3 separate regions of the Homo sapiens genome follow, and regions 1 and 2 are each linked to region 3. Evidence: promoter capture Hi-C in human tissues and cell types (Jung and others, 2019). All regions are on one chromosome and are shown on one strand. Each heading gives the region's core, a stretch centred on a gene start or on the middle of the fragment in contact. The rest is flanking DNA. Distances are from core to core; before and after follow the strand shown. Region 1 overlaps SEZ6L (seizure related 6 homolog like). Region 2 overlaps SEZ6L (seizure related 6 homolog like). Region 3 holds the start of SEZ6L (seizure related 6 homolog like).

Region 1 (3,654 bases), core at 668-3,167, 94 kb before region 3:
TTTTCCGGGTTACCAGAAGAGGACAGAGCATAAGCTAAGGCAATTCAGGTTGACAAGGGAGGTGCACAGGGTGGTGTAAGGAAACTTGCCCCAGCTATGCCATCCCTACCTCCTCCCAGGATAAGTTTTCATGATGCCCAGCCACAGGGAGGAGCTTCCAGAGAGTGGGGCATATAGGATCCTGCTACACTGTTCAAAATGTCATTAAGAGTGGGGGCTAAGAGGGGGAGAGATCAATGATAGGTGGTCCTGTCTGTAAACTTCCTCCACCCCTAAAACACATCTAGTGCAATATGAATGCACCGTAGCCTGCAGAATATCCCCATATTATTGTCTCTAAGTTGCTTTTCTTGGAAGAAGATACAAGGAAGGGAGGAAATAAACTCATATTTGCTGCTTGCTAAGCACTTGCAGAAGCTCCATTAAAACTCCAAACTTCACATCCCAATCATTTCCCCTTCCTGTGATAACAGAAAATCCATGGGTTTAAAGCAGGCATTGGCAAACTACAGCCCACTGGCCAAATTTGGCTTTCCTCCTGTTTTTGTAAATTAAGTTTCACTGGAACATGGTCCTGCTTTTTCTTTTTATGTATTGTCTAAGGATGCTTTCATGCAGAGTTGAATAGATGCCCCAGAGACTAAATAACCATCAAAGCATAAAATATTTACTATTTGGCCCTTTAGAGAAAAAGTTTGCCAGCCCTGGCAAATGTCTGTTCCTTTAGAGAAGTATAAACATATGATATTACCATGTATTTTAATAGGTAAACTTTAAAAAGGTCAAATTTTGATAATTTCATGGGTTCTATCTAATGACCCATTTTGGCATTAAATTCTGGAAGTCATACAGCTTGTTTCATCCATCTTCCTCATTTGTATTTGCATAATAAACAGAACTGAAGCTCAGAGAGGTTAAGTGATTTGCCAAAGGTCACACAGCTACAAAGTGACAAGATCGGGGCAGAAGCTTTTCCTGATCCATGTGCCTCTGACCAGAGAGGGCCCTGACAAAGCCTGTGCTCTGTTGTCAACCTCAGAACTCTCACAGTTACCAAATATTCACATCCTCCCAGGCAGTGCTTGCCCTAGCAAATGCAGCCTCAGAATCTGCCAAGATTCCAGAATTGGAATGACCCTGAGTTTACTCTTTGTGTTGCTAACACCAAGTTTTGTGACTGGAATCCTTGATCTGAGAGATGGCCAACGATAATCTTAGCTGTCCATGTTGCAGGATTTAGATGCTCTGTCAAAAGCAATGGGGGGTTTCACACGTGAGGTAGAGGGGACATCACTAGAATTGCAAAGATCACTCTACTTTCTGGCTGGAGCTTTGAGAGGGATTAAGGGTGGAAGCAAAAAGATCAGTCCAGGTGAGAGATGATGAGGCATGGCTAGCTGTGGGGACTAAAAGGTGAACAAGATTTAAAACAGATCTGTTTAGAGTCAAGAAGTCTTGGGATTGAGTTGGATAGAGACGGGAGAAGGCTGAGAGAAGGAAGAGATCAAGGAGGATGCCCAGGCTTCTGCCTGAGCAACCAGGTGGAGTGGAGATTTTCCTGCACTGTAAATGCTGAGTAAGGACCAGCTTTGGGAAGATCAGATTTGCCCTACAGGCCACTGCATAAAAGGGAAACTGTCTATCTCAGATGATCGTTGGGAATTGGGACAACATTTGTGCAGAGCTGGACGTAGGGTCTGTATTCCTTAAATGTGTGATTTGAGAAGATAAAAGGATGTCAATAAAGGCATTATGGCAGGATGGAAAGAATGTGGATTTTGGAGTCACAGAACTTTTCATTCAAATCCAGCATCTTCCACTTACACATGAGGTGACCTTGGATGCTTTATTTTACTTATCTGAGTCTTGATGTCTCATCCAGAGATATTGAGACATGGATGAGCAGACACAGTGCTAAGCGCACTTGCATATCTCCATTAGCCGTCACATGCACCCTGACGGGTGGGGGCTACTTCTGCAAGGCTTGTTTTACAAATGACGACAAGAAGGCTCAGAGAAGTAAACATACTTGCCTCCAGGTTACACAGTAGGCAGTGGTGTTGGATTTGAAATGCAGGACTGTAAACTCTGCAGGTAATAACTTCCCCCTCTTGGGTGGTTGTGGAAATGAGTCCAGGGGAGGAGTTAATGTGGCATGTGGCACCCGGTAGACCATGGGAAGCATGAAAGTGCTGAGTGATACCAAGAGTCCTTTCCATAGGAATTTAGGGGAACCAGGGCTAGGTGCTCCTGGGGGCTTCTTTGTGGAAATGACATTAATTCTGAGACTGAATGGTAGTCAATATAGCAGGGCAAGACTATGGGAAGAAGGGAAAATGGATGTAGCTGCTCAAAATATGAGCTTAGTAATTTTGTGAATTGAAAAGAAATCAAAGTTCTCAGCCCTGTGCTCAAACCATTTCGTCACCCTTGTGATTTGCTTTGAAAGTCTAGTGAACTCATGGTGGTCTCCCTTTAGGGACCAAGGTTTCTCTTGATAAAGAATTTGAGCTTCATGTCCTGGGCTTTCAGAAGCTCCCCCATCGACCCATGCACATGCTGGTCCTCCTTCTCCCGTCTGGCTAGTCTTTCTTACCTGGATTTCAGGTTCTCTGCTTAAATATCACCTCTCTGGCTTTCTAGACTAGTTTTGTCACCCATTACAAGCTCCCTGAGCTCCCTGTGCTGGTAACACTTACGTCTGTCCTTCACACTAGGAAAGAAGCCTGAGAATGGGAATGGTATTTGCGTTTATAAAACTAGCACCAGCAGCTGCAATATGGGCACATAGAAAAGGCTATGTACTAAATACTTGAATACAAGAATAAATGAATGAGTTTGTATGTTACATCCTGGTTCCTAATCACATCTGGATTAATATCTTTCCCTTTTTCCCTCAAAGATTTCTGCAGATTTACATGAGGAGATGTGCTGCAGTTGAGTCTCACACCTGCCATATATGTTCTTCTTCTCACAAGAAGGGCCATGTATTTCTTTTTAAAAGAGATAGATAGATAGATAGATAGATAGATAGATAGATAGATAAAATATATCAATATATAAAAGGTGCATATATATATCTTTTATATATCAATATAAATATATATTTGTTTGTATATCAATATATTAAATATATATATATATTCCCATTATACCTCTGGCCAACAGATTATTTCCAGAATTCTTTTGTCTCATAGAACTCACTTGCTACCCTGGAAACAAGAGAAAACCCAAATGGTTTGACTAAGCTTTCAAGACCCACTAGGGCTGGGTCAAACAAACTCCTTATTTCCCTCTGTTTCCCAATCGTGGAGGCTAACTCTTCCTCACTTCTGGATGATCACTCAGCTGAAATCCACTGGTCTCCTCTGTTGCTCCTCCTTGACCAATCCCACCTCCTCCTTAAAGCTACCTCCAATAATCTCAGTCCAATCTGACTTCTCCAAAATACTCGTATCAATTTTGCCTGAACCACACTTTTTATTATTTCATCCCCATTTTATTCACGCTTATCTACCCTCCCAACTCTATTCTTTCAAAGGAGAGACCTCACCTTGGCCAATTTTGTCTTTTTACAGCATCTGTACTTTATGCTTAGTAGGCACACACTACTTGTCTCCTCTGTGTATTTCTCTTGTAACTCCTTGTTCAGAG
Region 2 (3,553 bases), core at 211-2,710, 69 kb before region 3:
AATACAAAATGAATGGCTTTGTGCTTGGGCCTGCATGCAGCAACAGAAGGTCACGCCAGCAGGTTCAGGATGCATTTGGCCAGCATGGAAAGTGAAAAGAGAATGTTTTACAACCTCAGCGGCTCTGTGAGTCAGAAAACCACAGCTGTTCCATGCTGATAAGAAACCAGGGGAAGATAAGTTGCCCCTTGGATCTGAGGAAGAGGTAGCAGGTGGAGTTAGAAGGATTTGGGGTTGGAGTCAGGGGTCTGGGGTCTCATCTTGAATCAGTCCTCCCAGAGGCTCCAAGGCTGAGGGAAAGAACTTTGGTTTCAGAGTACTGGAGGCTTGGATTTAGGTGTGGATTCTCCTTCTCGCTAGTTGCAGTTCCTTCTATACAAAATGAAGATTCCCACAATCCCTTTTCATGGTCTCACTGGATAAAATGCTGCTTTGTGAACAGCATTGAACAAGAGGGTGCAGAACCTGTCTGATGATGCTTGAGAAGGCTTCCAAAGAACTTGCTGGCTAACTGGCAAGTGCTTCTTGACCATCTACTATGAGCAAATGCTGAGGTGTGTGCTGGGGATAGGGGACCTAAAGCCACAGCCCTCTCCACTCCACCCTGCCCCCCAGCTGGCCAGATGCTCCCCCTCCTTTTTTTGAGACAGGGTTTCACATTGCCGCCCAGGCTGGAGAGCAGTGGCCCGATCATGGCTCACTGCATCATCAGATTCCTGGATTCATGTAATCCTCCCGCCTCAGCCTCCCAAGTAGCTGGGACTACAAGCACATGACATCATGCCCTGCTAATTTTTTAAATTTTTTGTAGAGATGGGGTCTTGCTATGTTGCCTAGGCTAGTCTTGAACTCCTGGCCTCAGGTGATCCTCTTACCTTGGCCTCCCAAAGTGTTGAGATTACAGGGTTGAGCCACTATGTAGAGGCCCAGTTACACTTCTAAAGTCACACTGGACTTTCTGCAGCTTCAACCCAGCAGTTACAACATGTTGTTCTAGTTATTCGAGAGGCAGAGCAGCCTAGTGTGACCAGCAGGGGTTTAAGTTGGAAGGAACTGGTTTGAATCATGGTTCCTTCCTAACTGCATGAACCTCAGTCAAGTGACTAACGATTTCCATGCCTCAGCTTTTCCATCTGCAAACTCAGGGTAAAAATAGGACCTATCATCTCATTAAGCAATGGAGAATATTGAATGAAATAACTTATGCGAAGCCTGGCTTATTGTTGGTGCCCAAAAAACAGCAGGTATTACTATTTTTGCTATTATTGCTACAGCTGTTATTATTTATGTACTTTCTTTATCTGGCCACTTATGCTGCTGTCTCCTGGGAAGCAGTGCCTGCGTTTTACTCCTATTTGACATCCGCAAGGGATCGGAACTGCCTGGCTCAACACAGGTGCTAATCAACAGTTTTGAAGTGGATGAAGGAGTGGTTGAATGAATGCCATCTTGTCATGAGGCCATCTTCATAAACACGGTTCCTCAACTTTTGTCTTCTTCCAGATGGAATGCATATTTTTAGTTCTTGCACATCCTTCTGTGTTTCCCTCCTGAGTGCTTTGCCCCGTAGTGGCTCACAGTGGGTCCGTACAAAATACCAGCCTGAATGCCTACGCAGCCCTTCAGGCTAAACCCTTCTAGGACACAACCTTTTCATCAACTGCATGGGGCCCACAGCTATTCCTTAGCCCCTTTGCCCTTCTGCCTGCTCTGACCAATGCCCTGCCCCTTTAATTAATAATAGGGACATGATTTGCTCAAATCCCGACCTCTGTTCATCCACTGCCCTGGGATATCAGTAAGATGTTTACTCTTCCATCTCCCCCGGGGAACTTGGGTTCCACAGCTCCTTTATCAACAATAATCCTGGGCTGCAGGCTTGATGGTGGAAAATGAATATTCTGGCTCCTTTTCAGTTTCCAGATTGATTGGGGACAAACGGGAACTCAGCCCTCTCAACCAATCATCCAAGGCAGTCAGCTGTAACTAGGTGTACACTTAAACAGCCGGCATGTGAAATAGCACACTTGTGCTCTGCTGATTAAAAAAAAAATCCAAATCATTATTCCCCACCTTCACAGGCTTGGAGGCCTAGGAGCAGGTGGGGTGGGGTGGGTGGCAGATGAGGCTGCCTCAGTAGCCCTAACCATTTCATCATTAATATCCACCCACCCACTATGCATTGTCCACAGTAAAATGTGCTTTGTCTTCCACACTGTATTGGTGAACAAATAAATCACTCAGTTCCTTGGTTTTAGTAAAACAATAAGAGCAACACTGGTGTAGTGTTTACTTTGTTCCAAGCACTTTGCATATATGAACTCACTTCATCCTCCTAACAACCCAACAGGTAGGTATCATCAGGATACCCATCTTATAGATGAAGAAACTGAGGCACAGAGAGGTGAAATAACTTGCCAGGTTTATCCACTGTATAAGTGGCTCTGGCTTCCACTCTGACATCTTTGGATTTCTACATGCAAACATTTTATTGGGAGTTTCCTATTTGTGAGACGTTGCACCAGAACCTGAGAATAGGCAAAAGACCTGGTCCCTGCTCATTGTGGGAAACAGGCGTGTAATTGAAGGAATGAAGCAGTGGCTAACGTGAATTAGAGCTTACTCAGCAGCGAGTCAGTGCTAAGAAGCTTTACGTAATAGTTCTCATGACAACCATATTAGGTAGAAACTTGATTATCCTTGTTTGACACACAGGGAAACTGAGGCTCAGGGAGGGGAAGTGGGGAAGTCACACCTCGAGTTGAGCAGCTAAGCCTGGATTTGAACCTATCCCTGTGTGACTCAACATCCCACTGCCTAGGACTCCCTGGCAGCTAGCCCAGCCTGGATGGTCAGTGGCAGCTTCTGGGAGTGGGAAGACTGAGAGCGAGGCAGAGAATGAAAGGGGGAGCAGAGACAGGTTCTGGTTGAGGGTTCTGGATATGAATAAGGCTGGTGTGTTAGGGGGACTGTTGTGTATGGGGGCTTCTGCATGGACAGAAGGCAGAGGAGAGGCTAATGGTAGCCACACCAAGCTGAGGCTCAGAGGCCATGGTCAGGATGTCATCCTGCAGGTATTACTGATTGATTTTAAGCCAGAAAAACCTGACCTTTTTAGCTAGCACATTCAGCCTTAGTTTTGCTAAGTAGAATCTCCATTAGAGTTTTCAAAACACTTCGTTTCTCTCTCAGCCCCCTCCTCTCCCTGCCCATCACTCCTTTCAAAGACTATTAGAGTCAGGGGGACCCCAGATTTGAAACTGGTGGTTTAGTCTATAACCAACTTTTTGAAGGATGCTTTGGAAATAAATGTCACAACCTCAATCAATCAAGTCCACAGGCTCGGAAAGTTTGACTATCTCCTGTTTCCATACCCAGTATTTTAAAAACTTACCTTCCCAGAGAGATCGACCAAATGCATAAATAAATGGAATAAAAAATAAGACAGGGTCTGTTTTGGAGAGCCGCTGGCAATGGCTGAGCCACACTGTGAGAGTCATACATCATTCAGGCATGAGGGAGTTTCAATAATACCCAAGTTCTCAAGCAATTA
Region 3 (3,536 bases), core at 801-3,300:
TTTCCCTGCAAGGTGGTGTATTGGAGAGTGGAGTTCTCAGAGGTAGAACTGCTTTAGAAAATCCAGTAAGCTGCTGGGTAGATTCAGGTTCTTTTTATATGTGTGTTAGTCACAACACAGATTCAAAAGGGGGTGGGGGAGGGAGAGCTGGACTCAGTTCAAGGCCACCAAGCCATTGTTAGAAAGAGACAGCTAATTAAGAAAGGCCATGCTGTGGTGGAAACGATTTGTTTAAACCAAATCTCTTTCCCTATCTTTCCCAGAGAAACTGTCCAGACCTGGTGTAAATTGTGGACATTATTGCCCCATAAAAAAGGGGTGGGGGTTCTTCAATGATATGCTTTGTTAAACAAAAGGTGATGAACAATTTCCTTTGCTCTGCACTCTGGGCTCTACATTTAAAAAGACGGGGAGATGGGGGATAAAATGCCTGATTTATGCTGAGGGGGGCACTCCAGGCCACCGGGAAGGGTTGAAGGGAAAGGGACCCAGAGCCAGGGCCCATGGAGCTGAGAGCTGTCCAGGGCCTTTGGTGCTGAAAGCAGGTGCGCGCGCTGGGGGTCCAGAACTCCCCGGAGAAGAACACCGCCTGTCCCCCAACTCCGAGTCAAGACGGTGCAAATGACAGAGGCGGAGCCCCAGATAAGCATAGTGCCTGCGCTCCCTCTGTCTTCAGCCTGGGCAGACCCTGCAGCTGTCTGCTTTTTTACACGTGAGGAGCGCATTTCTGGGACCTTGCAAGAAGGCCGGGTCCTGTGGCCAACTAACCCTCCCATTGATTTTCGGGTCTCCTAGGTGCCTGAGAAAACCCCCGAAGCTCTGAGGGTTAGCTTTGGGTGAGTTAGGCGTTGCACCCCTCTCTCTATCTGGCCCTCTCCCCCACCCATAACTTTTCCTGGGGTACCTTACCGGGGTGGAGAGAGGGTATGGTTCCAGGTCTGAGAAAGAGGAGCTGTCATTCTCTGCTAAATTTGGGCCCCTCTTCCCCTTCAACAAACACGTGGTAGATGAAACTAACACCCCTCACCCCCCATTCCTAACAGTGATCAGAGATGCTAGGCAGTAGGGGAGAGAGTAGAGGGGAGCCCGTTCAGGTTCCCAACTGCTAACTAACATCTCTTCTCCCTCCCCTACCAAGTTCTCAGAGCCCTCAGCCCCCTCCACCGGCCTCTAGCGAAAGCCACACCCAAGTCCGGTATCCTGACGCTTGGCTGAGATCGATCCAGGAACACAGACCCTCGGGGTAGCCTGAACCAAAGGAGTCAAGGGTTTCTGTGGTGTCGGGGGGAGCGGCAAATGCACTGTTTGAGTCTAGTCCTCAGTTGCAGGGTGGGTCAGCTTCTCACCCCCCTTCCTGTCCTCTCCCGGAGAGGAAGATAATTATCTGGCACCTAGCCCCGGGTGCGGTTGCAGAGAAGCGCCGGGAATTTGGGGTTTGGAGGCGACCCCACTCCAAGGAGAACCTCTTTGGCTGCAAAGGAGAATCAGCCCCGCAGCCGGGGAAGACCGAAAGGGAGCCCGCAGCCGAAGCAGGGAAGCGCCCGAGTCCTTCAACACATCCCCGCCTCCACACTCCCATCAGCCCGGGCCAAGGGGACGTGCGGTTCCTAGCCCCGATTTTGGACAGCCACCACCGCTTCCCATCCCGGCGGGTGGTGCCTGAGTCGCCCTGGTCAGCCCCGACCCCTGGCTGCCCCGCTCTCCCGGCAACTTTGCCCCCTGCCCGCCCCGCCCCTCGGGGCGCTTACCTCGCTCCAGCGCTGCCGCCGGGCTCCCCAGGAGCAGAGCGAGGAACAGCGAGATCCCGCGGAGTCCCGCGGCGGGCGGCCGGGCCGCGGGCATCGTGGCTGCAGGGGGCGCGGAGCCGCTGGCTGTGGGGCGGGCGGACGGCGAGGGAGCTGGGGAAGGAGGGCGGCGGTGAGCGAGAAAGGGGAAGCGGGAGCGAGGGAGGAGGCCGCGGGCCGGGGCAGCTTCCGGAGCCCCCTGGGCGGACGCGCGCTCAGCCCCGCGGTCGCTCTGGCCGAGCTGCGCCGGGCGCGGGCGGGCGAGTGAGGAGGAGCCGGCGAGCGAGCGAACGAGCGTGGAGCGAGCGGGAGGAGGGAGGGGGCTGGGGCCGAGTCTGTGCCGAGCGAGTGCAGGGAGGGAGGGGGCGGGCGAGCGGGCAGTGAGCTGGAGGGGCCGCGGCGGCGCCGGGGGTGCCAGCCGCCTCCTCTGGCCGCCGGCCCGTCGGCCCTGCAAAGTTTAACGCCAATTCCCCTTGCGTCCTGGGAGCCGAGCGTTTTCTCTCCCTGCTGACGCTCCCAGCAGCTCTGCCTGGCCAGGCCAGGCTGGAGAGCACCCGGACCATTTTCCAGACGGTGAGATGGAGCCCTGGAAACCGAGCTTATGAGCAGCCCGGAGCTTTCCATTGCCTGCCCAGCCTTCCAGATACATCCCAGTTCCAGTTCTTTCCAGAGCCCTCTGGGATCCAGCCAGCCTGCTTCCCCGCCAGGGCCTCACTGCTTCCAAAGTGAGTCCCCATAACCTAGAAAGTCTGTAACTCTGTGGATCTGGTGACAGCTGTGAATCTACTAGAACACTACACATAGCCACAAAATCGTGCATCTAACACGAGGGGGTCTGGACCCCTCTGAAGCCCAATCACGAACTCTAAATTAAGATCCACCTCCACTTTTTAATCTGAGCCCTGTCTCCCATAACCCCACTGCCGGCAGGGCACTAGCGCTGCGAGGCTTCCTCTCAGGTCAGCCGCTTGCCTCTTCCTGTACCCGCTTCCCTATCTGAGCAGGACTACAAGGCCCACCTCTGCAGCATTCTTGCCCAGGCCTGATTCTCAAGCAAAGTCTTTTCTCCACAAATAGAGGTAGTGAGGGACAATCAATGAGGGAGATAAACAGATACTTGGGGACAGACATTGGCAGAGAGCTAGGTGGGGACAAGCTTATGCACAGTCCTGGAGACTGACTGTCTCTCCCTGCGTAGCCTTGGCAGACCGGTCAGGCTTTACAGGCCTCTCACCCAATTTAGAAGCTGTCCTCCTCCCCCTACCCTACCTTGCCATACTATCTACACACTGCAGCCTGAACAGGCAGAGGGAGCAGATGGAGAGAAGGTTGCAGGCAGCAACAGGGGGAGGAATATGTCTTTAGCAGCGTGGTGGAGCCGGGAGTCCCTAGAAAGAATGGGTGGGGGAGGTGAACACTGGATGGAGGAGGGAAGGAGAAGCACTCTGGCCCAGGGTTTCAGAAGACGCTCCACACCCAGAGCTTCCCCATTTACTCACTCAAACAATGCTCTTTTACAGGCCACTGACTATAGGCCCAGACCTGCCTCAGGCTTTGGGGGACAGAGAGCCCCCCCATAAAATCCTATCTTCAGCTGCAAGAGGTTTCCATTCCTGGCAGTAAACCCAACTGGCTTTTATAAAGAAGGTGGCTGAGGCAGGGATGCAGGAGTGCTGATTTCTCCTTTGGAGAAGATGAAGCACTCCATGCTTTACTGTATGAGGCTGCCAGCTCTCTGTGGAATGACCTTGC

Evidence for each region. Contacts are between HindIII fragments. The study calls those that stand out against the background at their distance.
Region 1: a contact is called between a fragment that was not itself captured here and the fragment with the promoter of SEZ6L in region 3, in 4 of the 25 tissues and cell types used here (H1 embryonic stem cells, aorta, mesendoderm cells and 1 more).
Region 2: a contact is called between a fragment that was not itself captured here and the fragment with the promoter of SEZ6L in region 3, in 3 of the 25 tissues and cell types used here (H1 embryonic stem cells, IMR-90 fibroblasts and mesendoderm cells).

What each region holds. Positions count from the first base shown.
Region 1 is chr22:26,261,636-26,265,289 of GRCh38, reverse strand. The region is part of intron 1 of SEZ6L (seizure related 6 homolog like); the gene reads right to left. Among named protein-coding and RNA genes, the nearest start is that of SEZ6L-AS1, 17 kb to the right of the region's middle. The HindIII fragment of the contact is 4,858 bases long and covers 1-3,654 here.
Region 2 is chr22:26,236,314-26,239,866 of GRCh38, reverse strand. All of the region lies in intron 1 of SEZ6L (seizure related 6 homolog like), which reads right to left. Among named protein-coding and RNA genes, the nearest start is that of SEZ6L-AS1, 8.5 kb to the left of the region's middle. RefSeq lists an enhancer at 1-275. The HindIII fragment of the contact is 5,989 bases long and covers 1-3,553 here.
Region 3 is chr22:26,167,976-26,171,511 of GRCh38, reverse strand. SEZ6L (seizure related 6 homolog like) reads right to left here and starts at 2,050. Exons shown (of 17, transcript NM_021115.5): 1 at 1,749-2,050. The coding sequence starts at 1,842. It overlaps LOC105372971 (a long non-coding RNA gene), which reads left to right and starts at 2,278. Exons shown (of 6, transcript NR_188586.1): 1 at 2,278-2,509. RefSeq lists an enhancer at 132-1,071 and a silencer at 1,898-2,027. The HindIII fragment of the contact is 7,592 bases long and covers 1-3,536 here.